Linked DNA regions of Homo sapiens: all the other regions are linked to region 1. The links are contacts of gene promoters, found by promoter capture Hi-C in human tissues and cell types (Jung and others, 2019). All regions are on one chromosome and are shown on one strand. The core of a region is centred on a gene start or on the middle of the fragment in contact, and the rest is flanking DNA. Distances in the headings are between cores, read along the strand shown. Region 1 holds the start of ZNRF4 (zinc and ring finger 4). Region 2 overlaps PTPRS (protein tyrosine phosphatase receptor type S). Region 3 overlaps PTPRS (protein tyrosine phosphatase receptor type S). Region 4 overlaps SAFB2 (scaffold attachment factor B2).

Region 1 (2,784 bases), core at 150-2,649:
GGAAGGGAAGGAGACAGTAGCGGGCTCATTGACAAGACAGTACTGGGTTCGTTGACTTATGGAGCTCATTCGACTGGGGACCTCTAGGAGATATGGTAGAACATACTTCGATTTGTCCCATAAGAGGGACGAGGGAGTGGGGGCATTTATCTACCACCTCCCATCTGTCACTGGCTGAGGGCTGCTCTGAGAGGTATTAGGCCAACACAGAAAATCTAAAGACTAAGTAGTCAGCCTGGCAAAGTGAAGTTGAGGAGCAAGAATTCTGTTCCAGGCAGAGGGAACAGCATTTGCAAAATTCTAGAGGTGAACAAAGCAAGATGCCTCTGGGACATTGCAAATCATCCAGGCTTCAGAGATTGGCAGGCGCCCAACCACAGGGGTGCATGTAGGCCACAGAGAAGAGTGTGGGCTTTATCTGGAGGGCAATGGGGAGCCATGGGAGAGTTTAGAGCATGGGAAAGACTATGTTACAGGTCTGGAAGCTGAGGCCCAGAGAGGCTAAGGAATTTAGCTGATGTCATACAGCTTATGAATGGCAGAGACAGAAATCCGACTTGAGTGGGCTGCAGACAGATTGAGGGTGTGAAATTTGGGGGATGGGGACTGGGGAGGAGGTGAGGCTGATGCCCAGGGCTGAAGCTCAGGCAGGGGGCACAGTTGGAGACCCAGCTGGAGAGGCAATGCTATAGGGAGAGAGAATGAAGCTGGTGCAAGCCTGGAGGCCAACCTGGCGGTGCGGACTTGGGACCACTGACCCCCACCAGCCCCACCCTGACCCTGGCACTTGACTCTCCCTCCAAATCAAGTCCAGGAGGGCTCTGAGGATATATGGACTCAGACCTGAGTCCGGATAAAAGAGCCAGCTACGGAGAGAAAGGGCTTTCCAGGCAGGAGGCCCAGCCCATGCAAAGGCCCTGGGGCAGGATCCTGCCTGGTGTGTTGGAGGAACAGCAAGGAGATCTGTGTGGCTGGAGCAGAGTGAGGGATGGTGACAGGGGGTCAGGAATTTGGGTTTTAAGCACTGATCTCATTGTAGGGGGGCGTGGCTTGAACAAGTCTGGGTCACTCTTGGAGTCTCAGACAAGGGTAACATTGAACCTTCTACAGTGTGTTGCTAGGAACCTCCAGAAGCTGATGCTGGTAGCGTCTTCGCACAGTGAGGGCTGAATCTGCACTGCTGGGGGCCGGCAGCCCTTTTGAAGCATCCCTGGGCCTCCTTGGGTCCAAAGATACCCTGAGCCTTCAAGAAGTTATCTCAAAGCTTGCCCGGGTACCGGCAAATCACAGACCTAGGAATGATCCATTGGCCACAGGCCCAGGCAGCTGGCAGCTCCTGGGACAGAATGTAGCAGGGCGATGTCACAGAAGCTGGGGGCATCTAGAACCCTGGTGACTCCTGGTCTCCATGTCATCTGCCAGAAAGGCCACCTGCGCCAGCACCTCCTGAGACCGGCCTTCAAAGACACGACGCATGCCGCTCTGCCGTCCGGAGCACTTAATGCCTAGAGCCAGCAGGGTCCCAGTGGCCGCGTCACTGCCTCTGAGCCACGCGGTCATTCCAACTCAACTGCCCTCGCGTCCTGGCCACAGGCCCCCTGGGAGACCCCGGAGATGCCCAAAGGCCTCATGCCTGCCGCCTCCAGTGGGACCTAGCAGCACACAGACAGCGAAGCGGGTGACCATGGGGTGGCCACGGCCGGGCCGAGCCCTCGTGGCAGTCAAAGCCTTGCTGGTCTTGTCGCTGCTCCAGGTGCCCGCGCAGGCAGTGGTACGGGCCGTGCTGGAAGACAACTCGAGCTCGGTGGACTTTGCGGATCTGCCGGCGCTGTTCGGCGTCCCCCTGGCCCCCGAGGGCATACGGGGCTACCTGATGGAGGTCAAGCCAGCCAACGCGTGCCATCCCATCGAGGCCCCGCGACTGGGCAACCGCTCTCTGGGCGCCATCGTGCTGATCCGCCGCTACGACTGCACCTTCGACCTCAAGGTGCTGAACGCCCAGCGCGCCGGCTTCGAGGCGGCCATCGTGCACAACGTCCACTCCGACGACCTCGTGAGCATGACCCACGTCTACGAGGACTTGAGGGGCCAGATCGCCATCCCCTCAGTGTTCGTGAGCGAGGCCGCCTCGCAGGACCTGCGGGTCATCCTGGGCTGCAACAAGTCGGCCCACGCGCTGCTCCTGCCCGACGACCCACCGTGCCACGACCTGGGCTGTCACCCCGTGCTGACCGTGTCCTGGGTGCTGGGCTGTACCCTGGCCCTGGTCGTATCAGCCTTCTTTGTCCTGAACCACCTGTGGCTCTGGGCCCAGGCCTGCTGCAGCCACAGACGGCCGGTGAAGACGTCTACCTGCCAGAAGGCCCAGGTCCGCACCTTCACGTGGCACAACGACCTGTGTGCCATCTGCCTGGATGAGTATGAGGAGGGCGACCAACTCAAGATCCTGCCCTGCTCCCACACCTACCACTGCAAATGCATTGACCCCTGGTTCTCCCAAGCCCCCCGGCGCTCCTGCCCCGTGTGCAAACAGTCGGTGGCCGCCACAGAAGACAGCTTTGACTCCACCACCTACAGCTTCAGGGACGAGGACCCCTCCCTACCGGGCCACCGGCCCCCCATCTGGGCCATTCAAGTCCAGCTACGCTCCCGGAGGCTGGAGCTGCTGGGCCGCGCCAGTCCCCACTGCCACTGCAGCACCACGTCCCTGGAGGCAGAGTATACCACTGTCTCCTCAGCCCCTCCTGAGGCCCCTGGTCAGTAAAGATCTAGGGCAGGGAGGGG
Region 2 (2,784 bases), core at 91-2,590, 200 kb before region 1:
GCCAGCCTGGTTGCTGCCTCTCAGAGAAAACAAGGCTTTTCTCACCATAGTGAGTAACGAGGATTACGGCCAAGTATCAATCCTTGGCATCTAGCTCTTTCAAACTTGTGTGTCCTGACCCACTGGGGACACCAAAGAGGAAAAAAGTACCCATCACCTATACCAAACTCCATGTAATGGCCAGTTGCCACTGGTTGAATAATATCCAGTAGCCATCATAATAAATGTCCAGAAGCCATCAGTAAAAGGCTTATACTCAAAGGAATTGTTGGAACGTCAAAGGGAGTAAGATCTAGCTTTAGGATCTAAAGGTTAAGTGCCAGGCCAATTTATCTATTCTGTAAGGGTCAACATCTTATCCAAAAGACCCTGTTCCTGTTTGATCTTATCTTAAAATATCTCTCCATAGGGATGTCATAATTTGCAAGGTACCTTTAACTTTTTTTAGAAGTAGAGACAAGGGGATACCTGTTGAATATGTAAAAGACTTGCAGTACAGGGTTAACTATAAATCAGTTTAATGTGGGAGGGCATTTATCAACAGCAGTAATTTTAGGGTTCACAATCCCCAACATGGCCGGCAACCATCAGTTAAATGGACCTGCCAATAAATTATAATGGCTCCTCTGACACCTAAGAAACTTGCCCACTTGCTTTCTCACCCGCCTCATTTGTTTCAAAGGGTGTGCTCTAGGAAGAGGGCTGGTTTGCCACGAGTTTAAGGGAGGATCATGCCCATTGGCACTAGGTGGTTCAGATCTCCCCCTCCCTGGCGGCCTTGTAAGGCCTCTGGGCATCCTCCCAGCTGGCAAGGGCGGGTGACTGACGCTGTGTTCTGCCCGGTTTGGTGCTGGCACCCACCCATGTCATCTTTCCACCCCCGGCTGCAAGCTTGAGGTGCAGGTTAGAAAGTAAGGTGGGCACGGTGCCCACGGGACGGAGAGGCCCCGCGGGACCCCCGCCCCCAATTACCGACCTGAATGGAGGGTCCAGGCAGGTTATAAGGGGACCACACCAGCCTTGGTCCTCAGCACGCTCCAGCTGGCTCTGGTTTCCAGCTCTTCTCGTCACCGAGTAGCCGGGGGGTCCCAGCGGGGGGACCCGCTTGGGCGAGGGGGTCGGGAGGGTGGGCGGTGGGGTGGGGGGGTGGCAGGTTGTGGGGGGTGGTCGCTTCAAACCCCGATTCACATGGAAAAACAACTCAAAAACCGTCAAAGCAACCAGGAGACGACCCCTCCCCCAGGCAGGAAGAGGCAGAAACACAAAAACCAAAAAAGGGGGTTGGGAGTGGGGGCGAGGGTAAAGGGGAGGAAGGAAACTCAAAAGTGAGGTGATCTGGTTGAAGCACTAGGTAGGGAACCCCGACAGTGTCAGACATCTCAACGATTCAGCAAGCCGCAGCTCCAAGGGGTGCGGGGGCGGCGGGGGGGGGGGGGGGGGCTCTGCTGGGCATTTTGGGGTGGGAGAAGATTCTAGATACTTCTCCAAACTCCAAAATGAATATGCGGATGGAGAGGGCAGGGGAGAGATGCCAAGAAATTGTGCAGCCTCCGGGGGGTTTATTTAAGCTTAGATTACACCTGTCGGGGGGGAAGGGAGGGGTTGGAAACATTCCTAATTCCATAGCCCACTTCTTGTCCTCTCCTTTGAACTCCAGCCTGTAGCCCAAGGAGGGTGGGCACCGCCCCTCAGCCCACCTGCGTATTTTCTGCTACCCTTCTCCATCATTTTGCTGTGCCTCCTTCCCTCCCTCCCGCCTCTCCCCCCCACCGCCAGCTCCCTCCGCCACTGAGGTAGCGTGCAAGGCCCGGAGGGACCTGGCTGGCTCCCTGGCCCACGGGCTGACCAGCGGCCTTGGCAAGTCATTGGTATTTTGAGCTGGACCTTTGGATGCGCTCTAGATACTTTTTTTTTTTTTTTTGGTACCCGCTCTCTCTTTCTCTCATTTCTTTTTGTTTTTCCCCCAGTTCTGGCCAATCCATGGACTTCCCTCACCACCCCCCCAACCTCGCTGTGGCCGCCGGAGACACGGGGCTTTCCAAATGACAAGGTGTAATCTAATATTCCCCTCACAAACCCCCTCCCCCAACAGAGGAAACAGCGAATGCAGAGGGTGTGAGGCAGGCAGCAGGCGAGAGGTGTTCAGAGCTCAGTGTTCCTGCAGAGTGACCCCCTCCTCGCCGCCCACCCTGGCCAAATGGAGGGACGCCTGCCTTCCCGCCCCTGGAGTCCCCTCTCCCCGATGTGATGAGGGTGGGATGAGAAGGTCTGGGTCTGATCTAACACTGCCTGCCCCTAGGGTTAAGCCAGCGGCCTTAGGTAGGGAGGCGTGGCCAGGTATAGTAAGCACAAACTAGGGAGCTGGCCAACACACCTCAACGCGAGGCTTTCTGGGAATACAGGAGGTGAGGGGTGTTCCAGCCCACCATCTATGTCTGTCCCTGTTTTGGGGGGCCAAGAGGTAAGGGGAACACCTGGGGTCACATCCATCAATTTTAGGGCTTGGGTATTGGAAATTTAATTTAAAAAACAATTTTTCCCCATAAATTTGCATAGATGGATTGATCTGAAAAGGCCTGGGGACAGGTCACAAATACTGAAAAAGAAGACCTGGGAATCGGGCAATCTAGGCCTTGCTGGTGTCACGCAGCAGGTACTGGTTTCTTAGCTTAGCACTCAAGACTCTGCGTTAAATTATGCCAGTCCCATCGGCCTCTTCCAAAACCTTGAAGATATCCTCAGACCCTTCAAGGTAGAACATTGCTCAACCGGCAGGGCACGGTG
Region 3 (2,784 bases), core at 88-2,587, 170 kb before region 1:
GGGAAAGATTGTATGTATGTGTAGAAACAGTGCTGCCTCCAGGGAGCTAAGTGGCTGGACACAGGGACAGAGATTTCCACTTTGGTACCTTTTTACATGTAGAACTAAAGACAAATTGAAGAAGTTATTTTTATTTTTATTTTTATTTTATTTTTTCTTCTTCTTCTTATTTTTTTTTACAGAGACAGGGTCTCACTCTCACCCAAGGCTGGAGTGCGGTGGTGCAATCATAGCTCACTGCAGCCTCAAACTCCTGGGCTCCAGGGATCCTCTGGCCTCAGTCTCCTGAGTAATTGGAACCACAGGCGCTTGCTACCACATGCGGCTAATTTTTAATCTTTTGCAGAGACAGGGTCTCGCTATGTTTCCCAGGCTGGTCTGGAACTCCTGGGCTCAAGTGAACCTCCCATCTCGGTCTCCCAAAGCTCTGGGATTAGCAGTGTGAGCCACCGTGCCCAGCTGAAGTTATCTATTTTTATTTTTATTTTTTTGAGACAGAGTCTCACTGTGTCACCCAGGCGGGAGTGCTGTGGCGTGATCTCGGCTCACTGCAAGCTTCACCTCCCGGATTCACGCCATTCTCCTGCCTCAGCCTCCCGAGTAGCTGGGACTATAGGCGCCCGCCACCATGCCTGGCTAATTTTTTTGCATTTTTAGTAGAGACGGGGTTTCACCGTGTTAGCCAGGATGGTCTCGATCTCCTGACCTCGTGATCCACCCACCTTGGCCTCCCAAAGTGCTGGGATTACAGGCGTGAGCCACCACGCCCAGCCTGAAGTTATTTTAAAACATAAAATTGCTTAAATAAAAAAGTGAGCTGATTAAAGAAAAAATGGAGCAAAACTTTGTTTTAAGTAAAAGTTTGGGGTCTGAGGAGAGGCTGAGGTCTAACAACTCAAACTTGAGCAACGCTAGGACTTTGAGCCTCTACGACCAGCTAGAAAAGGGTAGAGTGAGTCCAGGGGCCACACAGGTTGACCAGAAAAGTTCTGGAAAGTTCCAGCTATTCAGAAGCCCAGAGAGGCCTTAAGAAGGCCCGAGGTTCCAAGGGTAGGTCCCTGTGGGCCCCAACGCCTACCCATCCATGGCTCAGGCTGGGCTTTAAACAAAACAGAGTTCCTGCCCCAGTGGCCTGACCAGCCTAACCTCCCTCACTCAAGGCTCTGCTCCTGTTGATATGACCGTATGTGTGTGCTTTGAGCATCTGTCCCAAAAGTCACTAGACCTGGCCGGGCGTGGTGGCTCATGCCTGTAATCCCAGCACTTTGGGAGGCTGAGGCGGATGGATTACCTGAGGTCAGGAGTTCAGGACCAGCCTGGCCAACATGATGAAACCCCGTCTCTACTAAAAAAATACAAAAATCAGCCAGGCGTGGTGGCGGGTGCCTGTAATCCCAGCTACTTGGGAGGCTGAGGCAGGAGAATCGTTTGAACCCAGGAGGCAGAGGGTGCAGTGGGCTGACATCCTGCCATTGCATTCCAGCCTGGGTGACAAAAGCAAAACTCTGTCTCCAAAACAAAACAAAACAAAAAAATCACTAGACCCACCATGTACAGGAATGCACAGCCTCCCTTAACTTTTTTTTTTTGTTTGTTTTTTGAGATGGAGTCTCGCTCTGTTGCCCAGGCTGGAATGCAGTGGCGTAATCTTGGCTCATTGCAACCTCCGCCTCCCAGGTTCAAGTGGTTCTCCTAACTCAGCCTCCCAAGTAGCTGGGATTACAGGAACCCACCACAACACCCAGCTGATTTTAGTATTTTTAGTAGAGAGGGGGTTTCAGCATGTTGGCCAGGCTGGTCGCGAACTCCTGACCTCAAATGATCCACCCACCTCAGCCTCCCAAAGTGCTGGGATTACAGGTATGAGGCGCCGCGCCTGGCCCCTCAACTCTTATTTATCCCTCTGTTGCAGCAACAGCCAATCCCACTGTACTGATTCAGGAATGTTAATGGGTTCACAGAGCTCAGAAGCTGGGCATGGTAGCTCACGCCTGTAATCCCAGCACTTTGGGAGGCCAAAGCGGGAGGATCAACTGAGGTCAGGAGTTCGAGACCAGCTTGAACAACATGGTGAAACCCCATCTCTACTAAAAATACAAAAATTAGCCCGGCATGGTGGCGCATGCCTGTAATCCCAGCTACTCGGGAGGCTGAGGCAGGAGAATTGCTTGAATCCAGGAGGCAGAGGTTGCAGTGAGCTGAGATCACGCCATTGCACTCCAGCCTGGGGGACAGGGCAAGACTCTGTCTCAAAAAACAAACCACCACAAAAAAGATCACAGAGTTCAGAAATAACAGCACTGGAATTTGAACCCGGGTTTCTGCCTCCAAAGCCGACATCTTACTGTCCCTTCCACATCCAGAACTTGAGCCTGATTAGGGCAGATGTTTTGCTCCACATTGAGGCTGGGGCTGCCCCCTCCTTCTGGCCTCAGGAATGGTGACCCGGGGCCATGCGTCCTCAGCCAAGGACATGAGGAAAAGTCACTGTGGCCGGGTCAAGAATGTTACTTCTGGTAAAAATCCCTCCCTCTGGAGCTGCTGGAAGGAAGGGCAGAAGCTGGCTGAGGGTAGAGACGCATCCAGCTGCCTGTCTGACCTAGAGCCAGAACACACCCCTTGCCCCCTCCAATCCAGCAAGCAAGACCGGGCGGGTGGGTGCTACAATCAGCCACTGTCTGTGCTGTTCCTTCCTCCCAGGGTCCCGTCCTCCTCCTCTCATCTGGCAGCTTCAACCTCAGCTCGGCCAGCACCTCCCCTGGGGAGCCTTCTTGGATTACTGCA
Region 4 (2,784 bases), core at 144-2,643, 150 kb after region 1:
AGGAAACATTCAATTCCTTCAGGAGGGAGGAAGATGATCTCCGATGGGAACTTGGATATACAACAAAAAGCAACGAAGAGCACCTGGTGAGGTGAACATGATTTTTTCCTGTCATTTCTGGGTCTCTTTAAAATATAACTGTTTGGCTGGGCGTGGTGGCTCACGCCTGTAATCTCAGCACTTTGGGAGGCCGAGGTGGGAGGATCACGAGGTCAGGAGATCAAGACCATCCTGACTAACACAGTGAAACCCCATCTCTACTTAAAATACAAAAAATTAGCCAGGCCTGGTGGCGGGCACCTGTAGTTCCAGCTACTTGGGAGGCTGAGGCAGGAGAATGGCATGAACCCAGGAGGCAGAGCTTGCAGTGAGCCGAGATCGCGCCACTGCACTCCAGCCTAGGCGACAGAGCGAGACTCCGTCTCAAAAACAAACAAAAACAAAAACAAAAACAAAAAAAAACACAACTGTTCAAAGCAAAAAAGCCAAACCACAACAAGTCAAAGCCAATAAAATATTGGGTGACTTCTTAAAGAGAAGTAAACCGTATGACAATAACATCACAAAGATCGACGGGAGGGGAAATGCAAGTATATTCCCACAGAGTTCTTGCACTACGCTGAAACCAACAGAGCACCCCTTGCAGACAGACTGTAAGGGAAGATGTGTACTGTAATCCTACAGTAAACCACAATGACACAGAGTTAGAGCAAATAAGCCATCAGTCATAAAAAGGACTCGACCCACAAGAAGGCAGATAAATGGGAAAAAGAGATCAATAAACAAACATGAACAGAAAATAGAGAACAAGACAGTAGATCTAACGCCAAGCCCACCACCACTGGCGCGCAGAGTAAACATTTCCCCGGGACACAGGAGTCCTGGTCTCTGCCCTATCTCTGACTCAGGGCATCAACCTAAGCAAGGCATTCCCCGTCTCTGGACCTCATGGCCCCAACTGTGAAATGACAAGGTGGAACCCACAAGCTTGAGGTTCCCATCTGACGTCCTTGGTTTTGACCACACAAATGGAGGAGTCAAGGCTCTGCCTGAATCTGTCCAGGGCCAAAGGGACAGAAGACTCTCCTGAGAGAAACACAGATGCCACTTCCCATTCTACCTTCCCATCAAATTAATCATCCTTACAAGTATATCTCTTCTGATGACAGACAAAACCCAAATGAGAGCAGGCACCATACTAAGCTTGTATGTCCCTATCCCTGAGCTATGCCATCCGCCCTGGAGGCTCTGCATACTTCAGTCAAGTAGCTGAGTGGTGTCCTGCCCCTCTGGCCTTCCTACGTCCTTCTGTTTTTGTCCAGAGCTGAGCCCCACAGGTAAGGCCAACTCTGTCACTCACGCCTCAGCTGAATGTCACTTCTTCAGCGAGCTCTGCTGAAGCTGCCTCCCAAATCTAAACACGGCCTCCCCAACACACTGACGGCGTGCTCTAATATTCCTTAATACGCTCATCACAACACATCATATGTGTTTATTTCTTAAATGGTCTTTTTCCCGCCAGACTAAAAAATCTGTGATGACAGTGACCACGTATGTTTACCTCTGCTTAATCATCAGTGTCCGAGTGAAGTCAACAAAGTAACTGAATAAACAGGTTATTCATGGCTATAAGAATTTCCTAAGCCCTTGCTGAACACACAGACTGTTCAGAGAAAAATTGAACAGCACGCTTTCTCCGGGTCCTGTCCGCTTCTTAAGCAATGAAACATTAACCAACACCTGATCGGGTGACACAGACCTAGACAAAGGAACGGCTTCTGTAGCCAGAAAACTGTGTCAGACAGGGCCCACTCTGCCTGGAATCAGGGCACCCTCCAGACACTAAATGGTCCGAACCTTGTCCCTTGGAAGCCACTCCCCAGAGGCACCCAGGAGACCAGGGCAGTGCCAATTGCTTACCAGAAGACTCTTGGCTAGGCGCGGTGGCTCACGCCTGTAATCCCAGCATTTTGGGAGGCCAAGCAGGCAGATCACATAGGTCAGGAGTTGGAGACCAGTCTGGCCAACATGGCGAAACCCCATCTCTACTGAAAATACAAAAATTAGCCAGGCATGGTGGTGGGTGCCTGTAATCCCAGCTACTCGAGAAGCTAAGGCACGAGAATCACTTGAACCTGGGAGGGAGGCGGAGGCTGCAGTGAGCCAAGATCACACCACTGCACTTCAGCCTGGGCAACAGAGCGAGACGCAGTCTCAAAAAAAAAAAAAAAAAAAAAAAGAACAACAAACAAACAAAAAAAGAAGACTCTTAATTAATTTCAAACAGTGGAATCATTTTAAATTGTCCTCACCTTCCTTTGGAAAGCTGCTGAATTGTACTATTTTTCTCCCACCCCCATGAGCAGCATCTTAGTGATTTATTTTTGAACCACGATCATGTTCTAGTTATGAGACTATATACTTAAAATGCTAAATGATATGAAAGTCAATTATTCACTTCATTCTTTTTTTTTTTTTTTTTTTTTATGACATAGTCTCGCTCTGTTACCCAGGCTGGAGTGCAGTGGCACAATCTTGGCTCACTGCAACCTCTGCCTCCTGGGTTCAAGTGATTCTCCCACCTCAGCTTCCCGAGTAGCTGCGACTACAGGCACAGAACACCACGGCTGGCTGATTTTTGTATTTTTAGCAGAGACAGGGTTTCGCCATGTTGGCCAGGCTGGTCTCCAACTCCTGACTTTAGGTGATACGCCCGCCTCGGCCTCCCAAATTATTCTTAAGGGAAAAATCTCATCATGTAAGCTTTAAGTTTTGCACAAGACA

What was found. The method cuts DNA at HindIII sites, captures the fragments that hold promoters and counts their contacts. A contact is called where the count stands out against the background at its distance.
Region 2: a fragment that was not itself captured here is called in contact with the fragment with the promoter of ZNRF4 in region 1 in 2 of the 25 tissues and cell types used here (dorsolateral prefrontal cortex and lymphoblastoid cells).
Region 3: a fragment that was not itself captured here is called in contact with the fragment with the promoter of ZNRF4 in region 1 in 4 of the 25 tissues and cell types used here (IMR-90 fibroblasts, dorsolateral prefrontal cortex, liver and 1 more).
Region 4: a fragment that was not itself captured here is called in contact with the fragment with the promoter of ZNRF4 in region 1 in 5 of the 25 tissues and cell types used here (H1 embryonic stem cells, dorsolateral prefrontal cortex, liver and 2 more).

What each region holds. Positions count from the first base shown.
Region 1 is chr19:5,454,018-5,456,801 of GRCh38, forward strand. It overlaps ZNRF4 (zinc and ring finger 4), which reads left to right and starts at 1,400. Exons shown (of 1, transcript NM_181710.4): 1 at 1,400-2,784. The coding sequence starts at 1,475. The coding sequence ends at 2,764. The HindIII fragment of the contact is 14,927 bases long and covers 146-2,784 here.
Region 2 is chr19:5,249,525-5,252,308 of GRCh38, forward strand. All of the region lies in intron 9 of PTPRS (protein tyrosine phosphatase receptor type S), which reads right to left. Among named protein-coding and RNA genes, the nearest start is that of PTPRS-AS1, 73 kb to the left of the region's middle. The HindIII fragment of the contact is 4,501 bases long and covers 1-2,784 here.
Region 3 is chr19:5,279,210-5,281,993 of GRCh38, forward strand. All of the region lies in intron 2 of PTPRS (protein tyrosine phosphatase receptor type S), which reads right to left. Among named protein-coding and RNA genes, the nearest start is that of PTPRS, 60 kb to the right of the region's middle. RefSeq lists an enhancer at 1,108-1,277. The HindIII fragment of the contact is 3,738 bases long and covers 1-2,784 here.
Region 4 is chr19:5,606,836-5,609,619 of GRCh38, forward strand. All of the region lies in intron 9 of SAFB2 (scaffold attachment factor B2), which reads right to left. Among named protein-coding and RNA genes, the nearest start is that of SAFB2, 15 kb to the right of the region's middle. The HindIII fragment of the contact is 3,966 bases long and covers 1-2,784 here.